2 separate regions of the Homo sapiens genome follow, and region 1 is linked to region 2. Evidence: promoter capture Hi-C in human tissues and cell types (Jung and others, 2019). All regions are on one chromosome and are shown on one strand. The core of a region is centred on a gene start or on the middle of the fragment in contact, and the rest is flanking DNA. Distances in the headings are between cores, read along the strand shown. Region 1 holds the start of NUP210L (nucleoporin 210 like). Region 2 holds the start of CRTC2 (CREB regulated transcription coactivator 2).

Evidence for each region. The method cuts DNA at HindIII sites, captures the fragments that hold promoters and counts their contacts. A contact is called where the count stands out against the background at its distance.
Region 1: a contact is called between the fragment with the promoter of NUP210L here and the fragment with the promoter of CRTC2 in region 2, in 1 of the 25 tissues and cell types used here (aorta).

The regions. Positions count from the first base shown.
Region 1 is chr1:154,152,550-154,157,252 of GRCh38, forward strand. It overlaps NUP210L (nucleoporin 210 like), which reads right to left and starts at 2,524. Exons shown (of 40, transcript NM_207308.3): 1 at 2,293-2,524; 2 at 187-323. The coding sequence starts at 2,495. It also overlaps a transcript of TPM3 not described here. RefSeq lists enhancers at 1,857-2,357, 2,358-2,858 and a silencer at 3,465-3,642. The HindIII fragment of the contact is 16,458 bases long and covers 1-4,703 here.
Region 2 is chr1:153,956,061-153,960,357 of GRCh38, forward strand. CRTC2 (CREB regulated transcription coactivator 2) reads right to left here and starts at 2,552. Exons shown (of 14, transcript NM_181715.3): 1 at 2,285-2,552. The coding sequence starts at 2,437. SLC39A1 (solute carrier family 39 member 1) reads right to left here. Exons shown (of 4, transcript NM_001271958.2): 4 at 3,050-4,297. The coding sequence ends at 4,038. RefSeq lists enhancers at 1,632-1,681, 1,742-1,961, 1,972-2,021, 2,582-2,781 and a silencer at 2,182-2,331. The HindIII fragment of the contact is 13,419 bases long and covers 1-4,297 here.

The DNA.
Region 1 (4,703 bases), core at 1,274-3,773, 200 kb after region 2:
AATCTTTCTGCCTCAGCCTCCCAAAGTGCTGGGATTAAAGGCGTGAGCCACTGCAGCCAGCTAGGAATCATTTATTCTCCCTTTGATCATTTGAAGCCAACACCATTTGTGTTAACTATCTATACAAAATACCAGATTATTCTACCCCAGAAGAAGTGATACATAGTGTTTTTGCTCTCAACATACCTATTTCTCGAGCAAGAATAATACTGCTGAGGCGTATCGGTTGCGTAGATTCAGCAATGAGTACAGCTTTTTGGGAACACAAGGTGCCATTTTCATATAAAGGCTCAACAGTAACTGCATCATGATGGGTGGAATGCCTGCCAGAACAAAATTCTTAAGAGTGTGAAATAGGTGGGTTAAAATTAACTTTTAGTGGAACATAGATTCTCACACTTCTTCCATGTTACATACTACCAGGTATATGTAAATGACACTTTTTAAAGAAGGAACATTGCTTAGGGATGCGATAATTAAACTGAGAGATTGATGAGAACTTTCCCAATGATCCCTTGAACAAAGTCCCAGAAATATCCCTCCCTCAATTTTTTTTAAAAGATTTTTATATTCTTCCCTCAGTATGCAGAAATACGACTGATGTGTTTCTAGTAATGAGAGGGGACTTTCTCATACTCTGAGGAAAGTTTCCTTCAATCCTAGAAACCAGGCTTCTGATATCTAGGATGGAAAAGGTGCCTAAATTATGAGGTGTGAGTCCAACTCAAAATACCAAAAACATTCATAAATATTTTTATTCTTATTTATTATTATGTTTTTGAGACCGAGTCACTTTGTTGCCCAAGCTGAAGTGCAGCAGGGCGATCTCAGCTCACTGCAACATTCGCCTCCAGGGTTCAAGCGATTCTCCTGCCTCAGCCTCTCGAGTAGCTGAGATTACAGGTGTCTGCCACTATGCCCGACTAATTTTTGTATTTTTAGTAGGGATGGGCTTTCATCATGTTGGCCAGGCTGGTCTTGAACTCCTGACTTCAAGTGATCTGCCTGCCCCGGCCTCCCAAAGTGCTGGGATTACAGGCGTGAGCCACTGCGCCCGGCCGAATGTTTTTATTTTAAATAGAGACGGGGTCTCACTATGTTGATCCGGCTGGTCTCAAACTCCTGGCCTCAAGTAATCCTCCTGCCTTGGCCTCCCAAAGTGCTGGGATTACAGGCGTGAGCCACCATGCCTGGCCTCATTAATATTTTTGGAGTGATAGAAGAAATGGCTTTCAATGCTGGAAAGATGCCTTGCATCACCCTCACGGTCAGGAAACACACACGTCACACTGGATCATCTTACAAGCTCACTTTCCTTATACTTCCTCATAAAATGAGAGGTGAATTTATACTCGGAACAAACCTCATTGCTTCTCCTAGGAGATGGCAAAGGGGTATCTACTCCATCTAGGATGAATGCACTGGCATCCTGAAGCTCACTTCGGTTAGGTTCTCTCATACCTTAGGCAACCACATAACCCATCATTGGGTCCTCTCACACCAGAAAATCATGTCTCTTCATCTTCAGTCAGGAAGTCATTATCCCGGAGTTGTGTGTACCCCCTGTCCTCACACTTCAAGCGGGTACCCTTTTATAAATGGGGCAATTTTGATAATACAGACAGATCTCATCTCCACCCACGATAAATCTTCTCATATTCCCAGAAGTTTACACTTCATAGTCTCTGGGCCTCACTTTCCTCGTCTGTGAAATGGGAGTAATAGTACTTACTTCATAAGACTGCAAAAAGCGAATGAGTTAACACATGTAAAGTGCTTAGTTAACCCCCAATACTTGGCTGTTGTGTTTTAAGTCCTTCTCACATTGAATAGCTCATCTATAGTTAGTGGGGACCCTCGCACCCCAAGTTTTCCTGTTCCTACAGAAATTTCCTCAGATATGGGGAACTTCCTCTTACTCTAGTTGTTTACATTGGAAGTCATCAGTACCTGTGGCCTCCAACACAGGGCTTCCCTTTACCCTGACGGCTGCTCATAGTGACCACCCCTTCCCAACACACACAGAGAAGAGGCCAGTCCCACATCCCGAGAATTCCTCACACGTCTGGAAGATTGTCACACAGCTGGAGGATATACCACATGAGTAGGACACGCCACACCCAAGGGTCTGCTCCTCGCCACCTTCACTGACACCACACTCTCCTCCCCTACCGGCTAGGCCCCTTCACGCGGCCCCACACGGTATTCCTGTGGGATCTTACAGAGGGAACCCCCCTCACCCTTACTGGATGGTAGTGAGGGTGCATATCCTTGTCACCCACCACCCCTCACCAAGTGTAGCAGCCCCGCTGGGCCTCCAGCAGGAAAGGCACCCGGCCTGGCTCTCGGCCGAAGGGTAGCAACACCTGTGGCACGTTAAGTTTGTTGGCCAGGGTCCCACGCAAAACCAGAAACAACAACAGGAGGCGGTGTAGACGCAAGAAGAAAAAGAGCCCGAAGCCTCGGCGTCTTGATGACGCCGGACAGCCAGTCATGGCGACTGCCAGGTCTCGGGTTCCCGCTCAACTACAGCCGGCTCACAGCTCCATCAGCCAATCCACAGGCGTGACGTCAGCAGAGGGGGATGGGACCTGCTTCTTGCTCGGATGTGTGGGCATTTTTAAATGCAGTCCTTCAGCAAGCCAATATAATGGAAACTTTTGGCACAAACCCAGCTAAAACACCTCAAACTCTCTTAAAGGGCTTTCCTAAATACTGGATGGCAGACCTTTTTAACAGTAAGGAACAAGCAGAAAAGTCTAAAAAAAACCCTTTAATTTCTTCCAGTTTTAATTTCTTCTGTTGCACACTGTTTATCTTAACACCACACCCTCCGCCCGACAAAAAAACTTTTTGCAATGATTTCCAGTTAGCATTGGTCCATGCCTATCAACGGAAAATTGTGCAGTCTCTGGGATAAACAGCTCGACTTTGTCAAGGGAACCGTGTATTTTTACTAGAAGTCAGATTCACGTCCGGCCTCCAGGCCAGAATGCAGGAAATGCCAGACACTGGCGTCTCAAAAGCAGCTTTCAAAGTTATCCACTCACACAGCCGGCCTCTAAGCAAATACTCTTGAGAGCACTTGTTGTTTTCTCCAAATATCCAAACAGAATATAAACTCAAAGCTGTTTCAGTACAGTTGGTTAAAACCACGCATTTATAGTAGTGATCAGCATTATATATTGTTTTAAGGAGCATAAATCCATAGTTTATAAGGATTGATATGGTTGTGAAGGAAAATGTATATAGTTCAGCCTGAGATGTCAGTGTTAACCTATAAAAGGCCCAGCACATTAAGTGTTCTTTCTAATCTTCATGTTTACTCTGACAATACTTATCTCCATTTTACAGATGATAAAACTAAACATTTGCTCTATATTAAATCCTGTTGCTCCAGCTGGGTGCGGTGGCTCACGCCCGTAATCCCAGCATTTTGGGAAGCTGAGGCAGGTGGATCACCTGAAGGTCAGGAGTTCGAGACCAGCCTGGCCAACATGGTGAAGCCCTGTCTCTACTTAAAATATAAAAAATTACCCGGGCATGGTGGCAGGTGCCTGTAATCCCAGCTACTCGGGAGGCTGAGGCAGGAGAATCTCTTGAACCAGGAGGCGGAGGTTGCAGTGAGCCGAGATCGAGCCATTACGCTCCAGCCCAGGCAACAAGAATGAAACTTCATCTCAAAAATAATAATAATAAAGAATAAATCCTGTTGCTACCACCCACAAAGATGCTATTTTTAACCCAAACCTCATAGCTTCTGTGGAGAAAGCACATTTAGTTTTAATAAATAAAAGTCAAATAGGTCTGAGGGTTGGAGGGACTGGTTCTTTATTTCAAAAAGACACTTGTCAATATTCAGTATCAAAACAGTTGCACTATTGATTTCTCTTTCTCCCAATCGGCCCCAAAGAGACCACATAAAAGGAGAGTACATTTTAAGCCAATAAGCTGCAGGATGTACACCTAACAGACCTCCTAGAAACCTTACCAGAAAATGGGGACTGGGTAGGGAAGGAAACTTAAAAGATCAACAAACTGCCAGCCCACGGACTGCAGAGGCTGTCACAGCCAGATGGGGTGGCCAGGGTGCCACAAACCCAAAGCAAAGTTTCAAAATAATATAAAATTTAAAAAGTTTTGTACATAAGCTATTCAAGATTTCTCCAGCACTGACTGATACAAAGCACAATTGAGATGGCACTTCTAGAGACAGCAGCTTCAAACCCAGAAAAGGGTAATGAGATGAGTTTCACATGGCTAAATCAGTGGCAAAAACACAGTCTTCTTTCTTTCTTTCTTTCAAGGAGGCAGGAAAGCAATTAAGTGGTCACCTCAACATAAGGGGGACATGATCCATTCTGTAAGCAGTTGTGAGGGGGTAGAGATGGGACAAAATTTTGGTCTCAGAGGTCTTACCATCTTAATTTGGTAACTTCTAATGAAAAAAATAAAAAATAGAAATAACATTATCCAAAGATATCTTAAAGCTGAAAACTTGAACAGCACATTTTTTGTTTTTGTTGTTGTTTGGCTAACTCCTCCTGGAATCACCTTTCTGGTTTAGCTAGTACTTTGTACAGAACAATGAGGTTTCCCACAGCGGAGTCTCCCTGGGCTCTGTTTGGCTCTCGGTAAGGCAGGCCTACACCTTTTCCTCTCCTCTATGGAGAGGGGAATATGCATTAAGGTGAAAAGTCACC
Region 2 (4,297 bases), core at 1,302-3,801:
TTCCCACTCTGGAGAGCACAGGCTTCTGGGCTCTGCCACTTGCCCAGCCTCAGGAAGGCTACACAAAGCCTGCACCTCCCAAACTAGAACATCCAAGGAATAGCAGCTCTCCTAGCTGGAAAAACAGCACCAAAACCAAGGGACATTCTTCCACTGAATCCTAAGGCTCTTGAATTGGCAGGGAAGCCTGGAGAAGGAGGGTGGACAGAGAGCAGCAGCCCACTCCAGCATGGGCCAGGGCCATCTTCCTGGTCTCATCCTCACTTTGGGGAGCTATGTCTGGCATAGGCGTAAGACAGCCTGGCATGGGTTTAGCCTGTGTACAGACATCCTGTCTCTGTGAGAGGTGAGCATCTATTTCCAAGGCTCAGCCCCTGCGACCAGCCAAATAAACAGGCCCAGGGCAAGGCCATGGGGAGGAGGGCAGCTGAGGAGGGGCAAGTTCTAAGAGCTTCCAGGGTCACACTCTTGTACAGAAGCCAACATCAGAACTGACATTCTGTTCCAGGAGGTCAGCCTAGTGAGCACTGTGCTGACCTCTGGACCACTTGAAGACCACTTGAGGTCTCATATATGGCAACCCCAGTATCTCAGTGGTATAGCCTCCCATGGCCATCTCTGTCTCAAATGAGCCCTCCCACCTGGCCAGATAACAGGCTGAGTCCCAGATCTCTTGTCCCTAGCTCTAGACTTTTGGGTCCCCTGGCCATGTATGCCCACTAGACTTTTCTGTGTAGCTGAGAAATTAACCAATAGGAGCAAGGTGGGTAGAAGGGGCCTTTTAAGAGATCGAGGCACCGTAAAGAGAAGCCCCAGCTTTTGAGTTTCGCACAGCCTTTCTTTGCACATACGAGCCCTAAGATCCCACCATGCCTCTGCTAGAATCACAGTCCTGAGGGCAGGGCCTCACGCTATCAAGATCAGCCTCCCATCTTCCTGTCTCTGTCCCCAACATGATGAAAAAGCTCCTAAAGGGGAGCAGTCTACAGTTAGATAATAATCCTCACAATGGTTACAGTGGGTTATGCACACACATGCATTTAAGTGTGCACATGCGTGCACAGACACCCTCCCAGATTTGCCTCCCCACCTAACTTCTGACTCCCACAAACTAGGGCACATAGTCCCTAGAGACTCAAAGGGGAAAGGACGAGAAAAAAAAAAAAGTAACAGAGTCAAGGGGGATACACACAAAAATACAACCAGAGTCACAGTCATAAATGCAACCACAGTCAGACCAGCAGAAAAAGGCTAGAGATGTTGTAGTAATGTTCCACCATCAATCCTTAAATTCCTTCTAGCTCTCTGCCATGAGGAATCATTGCAATATCCTTACCTACTGTTGTTTTAGAAGAATGTGTCCCTAAATTAAGACTGCATACCACCTAGGCGGACTCCTACCCCTTGGTCCCTCTGACCTCCAGCCTTGGAAAGCAAGAAACCAAGCCAGGGGGGCTTCAGAGGCAGCCTGGCAGAGGCCTGAAAGTTCTTTCAAGAACTCCTAGGAATGAATATTCTCAACACATAGAAGACCCTCCAAGGCACCCTACACACTAACCCACAAAGCAGCCAACTCCCTAGAAAGCTCAGCAAACCATAGAGTTCCACACAACTTATGGTCGGACGGTTACCCAGTTGTCGGATTCAAAACCCTACCTCTCCTCCAAGGAGGCCAGGACAAAACACCAAGCAATGGACCTCACCTTCATTCACGTCAGGAAACCACAAGAAGTATTTGAAAAAGGAAGCAAAAGGACGGGACGCAGGAGGGGACTTCCTGCCCCACTATACACAGCACCGCTCGTTCAAACCACTCAAGGGGCCCTTTCCCGGGGGCACCAAAGCGCAGAAGGCAGAGGGACCAGTTTGGAGGAGATCACAAACTCAGAGGAGCCAGGTTACAGACAAGCAGCCCTCCTCCCAGGCCATACCCCAATACCAGGCATGCTTCAGTAGCGTCCTCGAGGGGACTCCGTCAGGGATGCACAAGGACCACTCACCTCCTACCTCCGCCGGACTTCATCTCCCCTCTCCGCCCACTCCCACCTCACGTACTCGGCCCCCAGTCGCCTCTACACCCCGAACCTCTCCGGTGTTTCGGTCTCCCCCGGCAAAATCCTTCTTCCTGCCCCTCGGCCCTCAACCTGCGCCTCCCAAACGGCGGCGCCCGCGTCCCCTGCTCTGTTCCGCCTCCTTCGCTGCGGCGCCCGCCCCCGCCCCGCCTCTCCGGTCTCCGCTCCGTAACTGCTCAGCTCTGCTCCGGCTCCCCGGCGCGGCCCCTCACCCGGGTGGAGCCGATGTCCATCATCACCTCCTCGAAGGCCGCCGTCTCCTCGGCCTGACGCTGCTTCTGCAGCGCAATCTTCTCACTAAATTTGCGCGGATTGGAAGCCGAGGCCGTGGCCGAACCAGGCCCGTTCGCCCCCGACGTCGCCATCTTCCTTCCCCGTCCCTCCCTGCCACCCTCCCAGTACCAGCCGCGGCCTCCGCCGCGGCCTCGGCCCGGCTCCTCCAGCCGTAGCCACCGCCGCCTCAGCGAGCACCGCGAACCCGGCCCCAGCCTAGCCCTGACCTGTTGCGCGCGGGGGCCGCCGGGAATTGTAGTTTGTTTACGAGACTCCTTCACATCCCCAGTCACGCAGCACTAGGAGGAAACGGACTCCACTTCCCAGCAGCCCTGCTGACTCCGGAAACTGGGGACTTGGCTCCACCCTCTCGGCTACTCCCTGAGAGGTGCAAGCTGGGAAGAGTAGTTCTAAATTAGCCCTGAGACTACGAACGGAAAGGAGAGAGGGATTGAAGAGAGAAGAAAGGAAGAGGGAGGGGAGGGAAGAGAAGGGAAGCCGAGGGGTGGAGACCGGGAAAGAAGTACCAAGACACAAAGGAGGAAAAATTAGGTCATCTTCAGGGAAGGGGACTATCGGGTCCTGAGTGAAAACAGTGAGACCAAGAATCTTAAAACAGCTGTAAACATCTGGGACTCAGGCCCTCTCAGGCTGGCCACATGCCCACCCCTTTCCCAAAACAAACGAATCAGATACTGTACAGATGTCTAGAAACATCTTTTATTTGGGTAACAGGTCCCAAAACAGGTCAGTTAATAAAATAGATTCTAAAGAATATGTCCCTATGCACAGCCCTCCCTCCCCAAAAATAACGCTGGGGGTAGGCATTGCCCTTCCCCCTTGGGCTCCTCGGGTGTATTTAAAAAAATGTTTTGGCAGCTCAGTGTTTATCATCTGGGCATGGGACACCATGTCCATGTCCCCATATTCCTAGGGTACAGCAGCAGTAGATGGCTGCAACAACCTTCCTCCTACCCCAGCCCAGAAAATATTTCTGCCCCACCCCAGGATCCGGGACCAAAATAAAGAGCAAGCAGGCCCCCTTCACTGAGGTGCTGGGTAGGGCTCAGTGCCACATTACTGTGCTTTGAGAAAGAGGAAGGGGATTTGTTTGGCACTTTAAAAATAGAGGAGTAAGCAGGACTGGAGAGGCCAGAGAAGATACCAAAATTGGCAGGGAGAGACCATTTGGCGCCAGTCCCCTAGGAGATGGGAGGAGGGAGATAGGTATGAGGGTAGGCGCTAAGAAGAGTAGGAGGGGTCCACTCCAAGTGGCAGGGTGCTGAAATGGGCTAGGACCAACAGGACACTGACTCTAGGTTTATGACCTGTCCATACCCGTTCCACAGCAGCTGGGTACCCACCTCCAGCCTCCCATGTGAGCCTGTCCTTATGTATAGTGTCCAACCTCTGATTCTAGCAGTCAAGTGTCTTCCCCAATCCTAATGTCCCCTGATATGTCTCTAGCGACTTGACCATCTCTTGTTCCTTGGGACTGGGGCCAGCCTCTTGTCTGCCCACTTCCCTCTCATTAGTCAGATAGCCCCAAAGGCTCTATCTTTAGCTCCCAGAGAACTTTTTGGTCCTCAGTATTTCCCTTCCCCTTTCCTTCCTATTCCCCACAACTGGGGGAGGGAAGGGAGAACAGGGGCACCTGATCATCAATCTCCCCTGCCCCTCTCTTGAAGCCCCCTAGATTTGGATGAAGAGCAGGCCAGTGAGCAGGGCAAAGCCTGCTAGGAGCAGAATGACCTTGAGGATCCTTTGCTCAGAACTGGCCAGCTCCTGGGGCAGGATTTCCAGAAAGGTGATATAGAGAAAGGTGCCAGCTGCCATGCCCTCTAGCACAGACTGGGCCAGCTGGTGCAGAGGTCCTGCCGACTCTGCCAGAGCTGCACCCAGCCCGATGCCTAGAGGTGTCATGCATGAGAAGAGGATCCCACAGCCAGCCA